Linked DNA regions of Homo sapiens: region 1 is linked to region 2. The links are contacts of gene promoters, found by promoter capture Hi-C in blood cells and fetal thymus (Javierre and others, 2016). All regions are on one chromosome and are shown on one strand. The core of a region is centred on a gene start or on the middle of the fragment in contact, and the rest is flanking DNA. Distances in the headings are between cores, read along the strand shown. Region 1 holds the start of NAP1L4 (nucleosome assembly protein 1 like 4). Region 2 holds the start of RRM1 (ribonucleotide reductase catalytic subunit M1).

Region 1 (4,378 bases), core at 440-2,939, 1.1 Mb before region 2:
AGAAATTATCTCATCTTGTTTTTGAACAGGCTTTTCCAGATAATGCACAGCGCATTTTTAAAAGTCCCAAGGACATGAAATGAACATACATTTCGTTTTTAACAGTTAACAGGGGATACTTGTAAGAAACTTAAGGTTACACAGGAAGTGGTCAAAATCAAAAAGTAAAGATCACAAAGTGATCTTTCGTTGTTTTCATACTATAAAAACACAATGCCTCTGTTACTAAATGCAAAATGTAAAGCTCTGGCAAACAAAGTAAAGCAACCCTGTTCTCTCTTAAGAGGGCAGGGTGGAAAACCAATGACTGCCAGATGAAAACTAATTTATATCACCACAAACTATTTCTTAAAAATTTCATTAGCAGCCAAATACAAAATTATTTACTATCTACCTACTGATAAGGGTTTTCCATTACTATATGCTCAAAGACAAACCTTACAACTATAGTTTCGGGAGGCATAAATTTGCTTACCTCAGGAGGTCCCACAAAAATTCAGCTGAGGCCAGGTAACAGCAGTTTCCTGCAGAGATCAGCTACTTCCTATCACCATAGTGGTCGAAGAATCAAACGAAGTAATATCAGATTTCTACTCTGGAAGCCTAAAACACTTTTCCCTTTAAGCAAAAAAGCAAGCATTCCTTAGCTAGCAATCTCAGGCCAAACTCCCAACAAGCTCATCTCTGCTGTCTTATTCAAATATAAACCATCATGGTTTCAAGCAGTAACAGCACTCGCCTATTTCACACAGCTGACGCCTCTTAGGCCGTCAGGAATTTAAATCACCTTCTTGCCCACAAAGTATTTTTCTTCCAAAACAAACTGAAAAATATAGGCTCTTTGGCAACATTTTTGGAAGTACAACATAAACTTATCACAATAATTTTTAAACTGCAGACAACTAAAGGGAAGGAAGAAAAGCACTACTATATATACATACATATTTGAGGTCACCTCCTCCTGATGCTAGAGACTATCAACTGCTCAAAAGAAGGAAAACAAAATAAAGATTTCAGTCCCCACACTTAGCTGCGAATAGCTAACAAAGGGAATTAACATGCGGTCAATAACAAGAGGCTACTAAAAACTCTGACAGGTTAGGAAGTTTTCATTTCAGTTTCAAATTCAAATTCATACTGTAAAGTGGTGATGAACACATCCCATCCGCAGGTACTTAACCTCCATACAAATAAGAACTACCTCTCATATGGGCAAAAAGATCAAAATTCTACAGAAGAATCTGATGGCTAAATGGCTAATTTGCAAAACACAATGCCCTGTACATTTTGAGGACATCCTAAAACATGTGTAAACTTTTCAGAATTCAGTTTACCAAAGTTATCAAACTTAAAAATGATTAAAATTTATTTGCTACTGCAAAGAATTCAACCAATTTCTCCAATGACTACTCCATATTCATTTTGAAAAACAGTACCGGATTTAAAGCTTACACAACAAAATTCACAAAAGTGTTATATGTGCCTATATGACATATAGGCACAAATAACTGCAGACATTCTGAAGCTAACACTGCTCAACCAGGAAAAAAAAAAGACTGCAATTGGATATGTAATAACAGCTATTTAAGACGGCAGTAACGTGTTAAAATGGTTCATAAAAATCACATCATAAGGCCCTGAAATTCTAGTAAAAATATCTCTAAGTAAACTTGTGAACTACTACTAAATAACTAATTTTCTCTCTCTCTGTAGTCACTCATTTTATCTTTGGATTACTTTCCCATTCTATCACCACGTTGCTTTCTCTGAACTTCATTTTACATTTGCATATTATTTATTCCATTAGCAATTGCTCATCCCAGTCTGAATCTCAAAATTCTACTATAGGAGGCATTTGGCATTCTGTGGAATAAGAGAATTTTGAGATGGAAATGATCAACCAGCTCAAAACCTCGTAAGCTAGAGTTCAGTTAAGCTTAGCACAATGATGAAAACAATTTCTCATTAAAACTTCTTTCATTCCCTCTACAGAAGCAGTAACCCTGGGTACAGTTAAAACTGCCTGGGTCTTTAAGCTTTGTCACCTCGGACAAGTCATTATACCTAACCTCCCAGGGCCTCAGCTTCCAGAGTAGTTAAATGGAAAAACAATAGCATCTATCTCAGGTTATTAGATTATGAAATGAGTTAACACACGCAAACAGGCTGAAAGAGTCCCTGGTGCGCAGTGCAGGTATTAGTCATTTAGAGGTATAGTTACTATTACAGGAAGGTAGTAACTTAGAAAGACTTACCTTTAAGGTCCAACAACCTAATCTACATATTTGTATATTTCTAAGGTAAGAGAATTTTTAAAAGTCTATTTTCACCCCGTAAACCTAATGCAGGAGGATAAGGCACGGGTTACTACAGGAAAAAGTAATGCAGACTGGGGGATGCGAACCAAAGCACAGACGAATGTGCCCCGACGATTCCTCCGAGAACATAATGAAATGGCGGACCTTCCTGCCAGAGGAGCGCACAGTCACCCAGGCAGGTGATGTGACACACACGTTAGGGTCTAAAGGTCCCAAGGCTGGAGTCCCCTTTACTGGACCCTAAACATGTCTGCCTCCTGCCCCGCAATCAGACTTAGAGAACTGTGGACGGTGGAAAGTCTTATCATGACCAGGCCATCCTTCGCTGGGGTGAACGGAAAGCATTCAGAAGGGGAAAATTGAAAACAACAAAGACTCTGGTCAGGTCAAAAAATACAAATGTGACCTCTTCCACCATCTCTGAACTGAAAGAAAAGCATGGCACTTTCCCATCCATAACATGTACAATTTTTTTTTTTGGAGATTTTGCTTTTCCCTTGTGAAAGACGGTTTTAAATAGTAAACAGACTTGCTGCCCACCTTGGCTGGGAAACCAAGTCCCGTGAGTAACTAGTCTAAGGCCACTCAGGCCAGTCCTCGGGGAGCGCACGCCGCCCAGCTCGCTCCCACCGCACAGCTCCCAACAGCTAAGAAGCAACGCCAAGGACTTTCTTCCCCGTCAGACATGCCCTCGGCCACACCAAACTGACATCAAAACCCCAGTTAGCCCAGCCTGACCCCACAGAGGCTCACGATGACAACCGCCCTACGGAAAAACTCAAATTCCTAAACATCTAATAAAGAAGTCCTGGACGTCTCCACCTTAAAAACGGGAAGCCTGAACGCTCCGGCGCGCCCGGCCGTGTAACCGCCACAGCCCCCGCACGCGGGGCGGGCTGGGCTAGCGGGAGATTTGAGCGGCCGCCGCCTCTCGCCGTCTTCGCCTCCTCCAAGGGGCCGCCGCCCAGGAGGCCGCCCGCGGCGCAGAACAAAGCGCCTTGACCTTCAGTGAGGCGGGCAGCCGGGCGAGGCGCGCCGGGAGTTGGGAGGGGCCTCCCGCCAGCGCCCCAGGCCCGGGCTCCAGGCCCCAAGCCCCAGGCCCCGCCGCGGCCGCCGCTGCCTGCCCCGACCAGAACGCGGCCCCGCCCCTGCCCCACCGCCCCGAGGCTTCCAGAGATGGCCGCCGCCGCGCCCGCGCCGGACCCGCGGCCCCACCCGCCCGTCCGGGCCCGGCCGCCCTCCCCAGCGCGCCGTTACCGGCCCAGCACCCGTGTCTCCGCACCTCACGCCTCCTGCGGCAGTGGCGGCGACCCTAGCTTCGCTCGCTTTGGGGCTGCGCCGCCGTGGCCTCCAACAACGCCGGCTCCCATTGGCCGAGGCTCCTAGCTCCTCTCTCCGCGAGCAAGACAGGCTGCGATTCGCCGAGCGCGGCGCAAGTCAACTGCGCTTCGCGCCGCAGTCAGCAACCAATCACAAGCCTCCGAAGAAACGCCGCGCCATATGCAAATATTCCTCCGCGCGGCGCGCGCCCTGCGTTCCTCCGCCTCTTTAAATGGGGCGGGGCAAGGTGGAGACCGCGTGTGTGGTTCCGGGGGGTCCCGGGTCCCCGCTCCCGGGACCTTCCCCGGGTGGCACCACATCCTCGCGGGACACTGGGCACCACCCCTCTCCGTGGGCCCCGGCCCCAGCCGTCTTTATCTCCTGCGCCCTCCCAGTTCCCTAGTTCAATCCCGTCCGCGGCGGGTCGGTGCCTCCAGCACTCCGTGCGCCCGCTGATGTGAGAACCCCACCTCCCATGTCGTCCCCTCGCGCTACTCCTTGAGAACATCGCGGAGGGCCCCTCCGCCTGGGAGCCGTTTTCAACCAGCCCCGTTAGTGGTTGGGACGTAAGCCTAACCCCCGCTCATCCCCCAGGTCCCAGGTTGGAGAACACTTCCTCTGCGAAGAGGTCGGGGCTGGGTCACCTCCGCGGACAGGACGGGACTAGCCACTGCCTGCATCTCTTCCCCCACGCCCTGAGCCCCGCAGTGTCCCAGCAGCCTAGTTCTGGCCTGCGGGAG
Region 2 (4,144 bases), core at 485-2,984:
GGGGTGGGTATACCTGGGGCTGGTCTTAGGAGGGTGCTAGGCTGCAGACTGCCTTGTACTCCCTGGACACCCTCAAATGGGGTTTTCTGTGTTATTTCATAAAATTCTTTGAAGTCCAATAAAGCATGTAGGAGATTTTAACCACTGCTGGCTTTGACTCTCATTGTGTTCTCTGTGCTGTGGCATGATGGGATAAAGAGACAATCTTTCCTTTGCCCAGGGAAAATGAAACTTGAATGCACATGCCCAGAAGCTCTGTGGGCAGGGTTACCAGATAAATGCAGGATGACCAGTTAAATGTGAATTTCAGATAAACAGTTTTTAAAGTATAATTTTCTCTCATGCAGTATCTGGGACACATTTTTATTTGCTAAATTGGGAAACCCTATGTCTGGGTAAACTTGACCCTATCTATCCTATAACTTCACTTACGACTTTTAAAAAACATATCTATTTAATTTTTCTTTCTTTTTTTTTGTTTTTTTTGAGACGGCGTCTCACTCTCTTGCCTAGGCTAGGGTGCAATGGCGCGATCTTGGCTCACTGCAACCTCTGCCTCCAGCGTTCAAGCGATTCTTCTGCCTCAGCCTCCTGAGTAGCTGGGATTACAGGCGCGTGCTACCATGCCTGGCTACTTTTTGTATTTTTAGCAGCGGGGGGGTTTCACCACGTTGGTTAGGCTGGTCTCGAACTCCTGACCTCGTGATCTGCCCGCCTTGGCCTCCCATAGTGCTGGGATTACAGGAGTGAAGCACCGCGCTGGCCTACTTTTTCTATTTTTTGTAGAAATGGGGTCTCACTATGTTGCCCAGGCTTATCTCAACACCTGGCCTCACATGATGCTCCCGCCTTAGCCTCCCAAAATGCTGCAATTACAGGCTCACTTACGACTTTCCATGATTTTTGAAATTACTTCACAGGGAGCCTGGGCAGCTTCTGGAGGGCAGTGAGAAACCAACGAAAAGGCTTTAGGGAAAAGATGCCACAGATGAAATTTCATAAAGATCGCTTTGGGTAGCCCAAATCAGAAGCTTCTACACCAGCCTTACATATTACGGTTCTCATCTATTCTTATTCTCCACTCTAAGTCACCAAGTCCATCCTACCTCCACAAGGCAAATACCCTGTCTCTGCCACCATCCACTGAAGAACCCTAAAAGCAAATGGGTACTGACCCTGCCCTGCTTAAAATTCTCTCAGGGCTCTGATTTGCGTCAGGATAAAATCCAAACGCCATCGGCCTTGCGCGGTTTTCTTCCAGTTCCAGAGTGTCAGTCCTCTGGCCGATCTAAAAGCCCTGGGGCTCCAAGCTGCCCACGGCTGTGGAGCCTGGGCTGGAGCCCACAGCGGACGGCAGTGTTAGTATTATTATAATAAATGTCAGAGCAAGAAAAACGTTCCCGCCGGTTAGGTTTTGTTATTTCAAAAATAAATTAACCGCCTTTCCTCCGGCGGAGACGCGCAGGTGAGAGGGCGGCGCCTGACCCAGCGGGCTCTAGGTGCTACGCCAGGGCCCCGAGGGTCCCGAACTCGGCTTGCCCACACAAAACATGGTAGCAGGAGAGCAGCATTTCCGCCGGGCATGTCCATATCCAATGGGGCCCATGGGAGAGGCGTAGTCTTCTGGGTCTTGCCCAGACTCAACATGGCGGCTACACGTCGCCTGTCAGTCTGTGAAGCCTACCCCGGGCGTGGGCCGCAGCGTCGAGTAACGTCATTCGAACCCCGTCGCGCCCCTTTGTGCGTCACGGGTGGCGGGCGCGGGAAGGGGATTTGGATTGTTGCGCCTCTGCTCTGAAGAAAGTGCTGTCTGGCTCCAACTCCAGTTCTTTCCCCTGAGCAGCGCCTGGAACCTAACCCTTCCCACTCTGTCACCTTCTCGATCCCGCCGGCGCTTTAGAGCCGCAGTCCAGTCTTGGATCCTTCAGAGCCTCAGCCACTAGCTGCGATGCATGTGATCAAGCGAGGTGAGGGGGGGACGAGGTGGGCGAGAAGGAAGGTGAGGGGATGCGGGCTGCCGCCGCCGGAGCTGATGCCCAGACCGCCCGCCCGCCTTCGCTGCTTCCCGCCTTTCCCGCATTTCCCGCCGCGGCCTTCCGCCCTGTCAGCCCGCTCGGCCTTCTGTCTTCAGTCAGCCTGCCCCGAACCTCCTTCGGGCCTTCAGGCTGCGCCCCCTCGGCTTTGTCATCCTGCCGCCTTTCAAAAGGATAACACTTACCCCGTATCGAGTAGTGACTGCGTACGCCGAGCACTTGCCAGGCACTATTTTATTCCTCCCTGCAAGCCTCTGAGAGATGATTAGCTTATTACAGATGAGGAAACTGACGCTCAGAGCGAGGTGTCGCCGACTGACCCAAAGTCACCCATAGGTGACAATACGGTTTGATTTGAAAACCGTGGGGTTGGTGAGCTGTCTTAGGCACAGGGTCGGGGGGCAGCTAGGAAAGAAGGAGGGGGCCTCTCTACCCTCCGTAGGCACTTGTCAGTTTACTGATCTCTTTTGTGGGGTGAGGATAGGAGTGTGGCGTGGAAAAAACAGATCCCAGACAGACAGCACCCTCGAGTTCCTTTCCCTTCATGGGAAGAGATGCTGAATCAGAGAAGGGTGGCTGAGACATCTTCTGACAAGATGGGGACTGGGAAGAGTCAGGAACTCGTATTCTTTCTCAACAGTTCTTTTTCATTAGACTTGCCAAGTGCCCGCTTTGTGCCCAGCCCTTTGCTTGGCTTTGTGAGATTGTAGGAGGAGACAGTCCCTGCCTTGGGAACAGGCTTCATCGGGTTGGAAAAACAAGAGCAACATACTTTTAACAACCGCATGAGATACGTATGAACAAGTTTTGAGTTGAACCTACTTGCCTTTGTTAAAGCAATACAATGATTTCAAAATTGTAGGCACTTAGTAAATACTGGTTAATCGACTGGTTGTTTCTATTTTGTCCTCTAGGCTGTGAACATTTCAAAGATGGAGACTTGTTTGAGACAGAGTCTTGCTCTGTCACCCAGGATGGAATGCAGTGGTGTAATCATAGCTTACTGTAACCTTGAAGTCCTGGGCTCAAGCGATGCTCTTGCCTCAGCCTCTCAAGTAGCTGGGACTATAGGCATGCACCACCATGAGTGGCTAATTTTTAAAAATTTCTGGTAGTAAAGGAGTCTTGCTGTGTTTCCCAGTCTGGCCTTGAATTCCTGGCCTCAAACCATCCTCCCTTCCTTGGCTTCCCAAAGTGCTGGGAATACAAGCAAGATGGAGACTTTTCTGTTCACGTTTAGCACAGGACCTGACATGAACAGATTCTTAAAGAATGAATGAAAATAGTTGTATCAAAATGTAGGACACGATGAATGCTGTGAATAAGCAGGTAGTTGATTTGGTTTAACTACAGCCAATGTCCAGATTGGTTTAACTACAGACAAGAGTTGGAAAGGTGGACAGTAGTGGCCTTTCTTGTTTTTGGTATCTTGAGAACATCATTCTGTGAATTTTCCTAGCTCACATTTTAGCTGACCAAAGAGCAAAATAACATAGTGCACTTTTATTGATCCATTCATAAGAGTGAGAGCTGAGCATCTATTTTTGTATTTTTATTTTTTTACATTATTATTTATTTGTATTTTTTTAGAGAAGGAGTCTCGCTATGTTGCCCAGGCTTGTCTTGAACTCCTGGGCTCAAGCATTCTTCCCACTTCAGCCTCCCAAAGTGCTTGGATTACAGTGCTGGGAGCCACCGCACCTGGCTTGAGCATCTATTTTTTAAATCTTTAGATATGGGAGAGATGTTTAGGATGGTCTATGATAAGTCAGTAACAAAGATGAATTGAAAATGTATGGACTTAGATGACCAGAATGGGTAAAATTCAACCCTGTGTTGAATTTTGAACTTTTAGAGTCTACTTCTAAATACTTTCGTTTAAAAAGTGCTACCTTGGCCTGGCGTGGCAGGGCATGGTGGCTCACGCCTGTAATCCCAGCACTTTGGGAGGCTGAGGTGGGTGGATCATTTGAGGTGTGGAGTTTGAGACCAGCTGGGCCAACATGGTGGAACCCCGTCTCTACTAAAAACACAAAAGTTAGCCGGACGGTAGTGGTTTGCACCTGTAATCCCAGCTACTCAGGAGGCTGAGGCAGGAGAATCGCTTGAGC

Evidence for each region. The method cuts DNA at HindIII sites, captures the fragments that hold promoters and counts their contacts. A CHiCAGO score of 5 or more calls a contact.
Region 1: a fragment that was not itself captured here is called in contact with the fragment with the promoter of RRM1 in region 2 in 1 of 17 cell types (total B cells); the score reaches 5.9 in total B cells.

What each region holds. Positions count from the first base shown.
Region 1 is chr11:2,988,654-2,993,031 of GRCh38, forward strand. It overlaps NAP1L4 (nucleosome assembly protein 1 like 4), which reads right to left and starts at 3,676. Exons shown (of 16, transcript NM_005969.4): 1 at 3,601-3,676. RefSeq lists enhancers at 2,245-3,101, 3,646-3,940. The HindIII fragment of the contact is 489 bases long and covers 1,446-1,934 here.
Region 2 is chr11:4,093,065-4,097,208 of GRCh38, forward strand. RRM1 (ribonucleotide reductase catalytic subunit M1) reads left to right here and starts at 1,735. Exons shown (of 19, transcript NM_001033.5): 1 at 1,735-1,967. The coding sequence starts at 1,949. STIM1 (stromal interaction molecule 1) reads left to right here. Exons shown (of 13, transcript NM_001382567.1): 13 at 1-144. RefSeq lists enhancers at 1,365-1,434, 1,495-1,964. The HindIII fragment of the contact is 7,950 bases long and covers 1,030-4,144 here.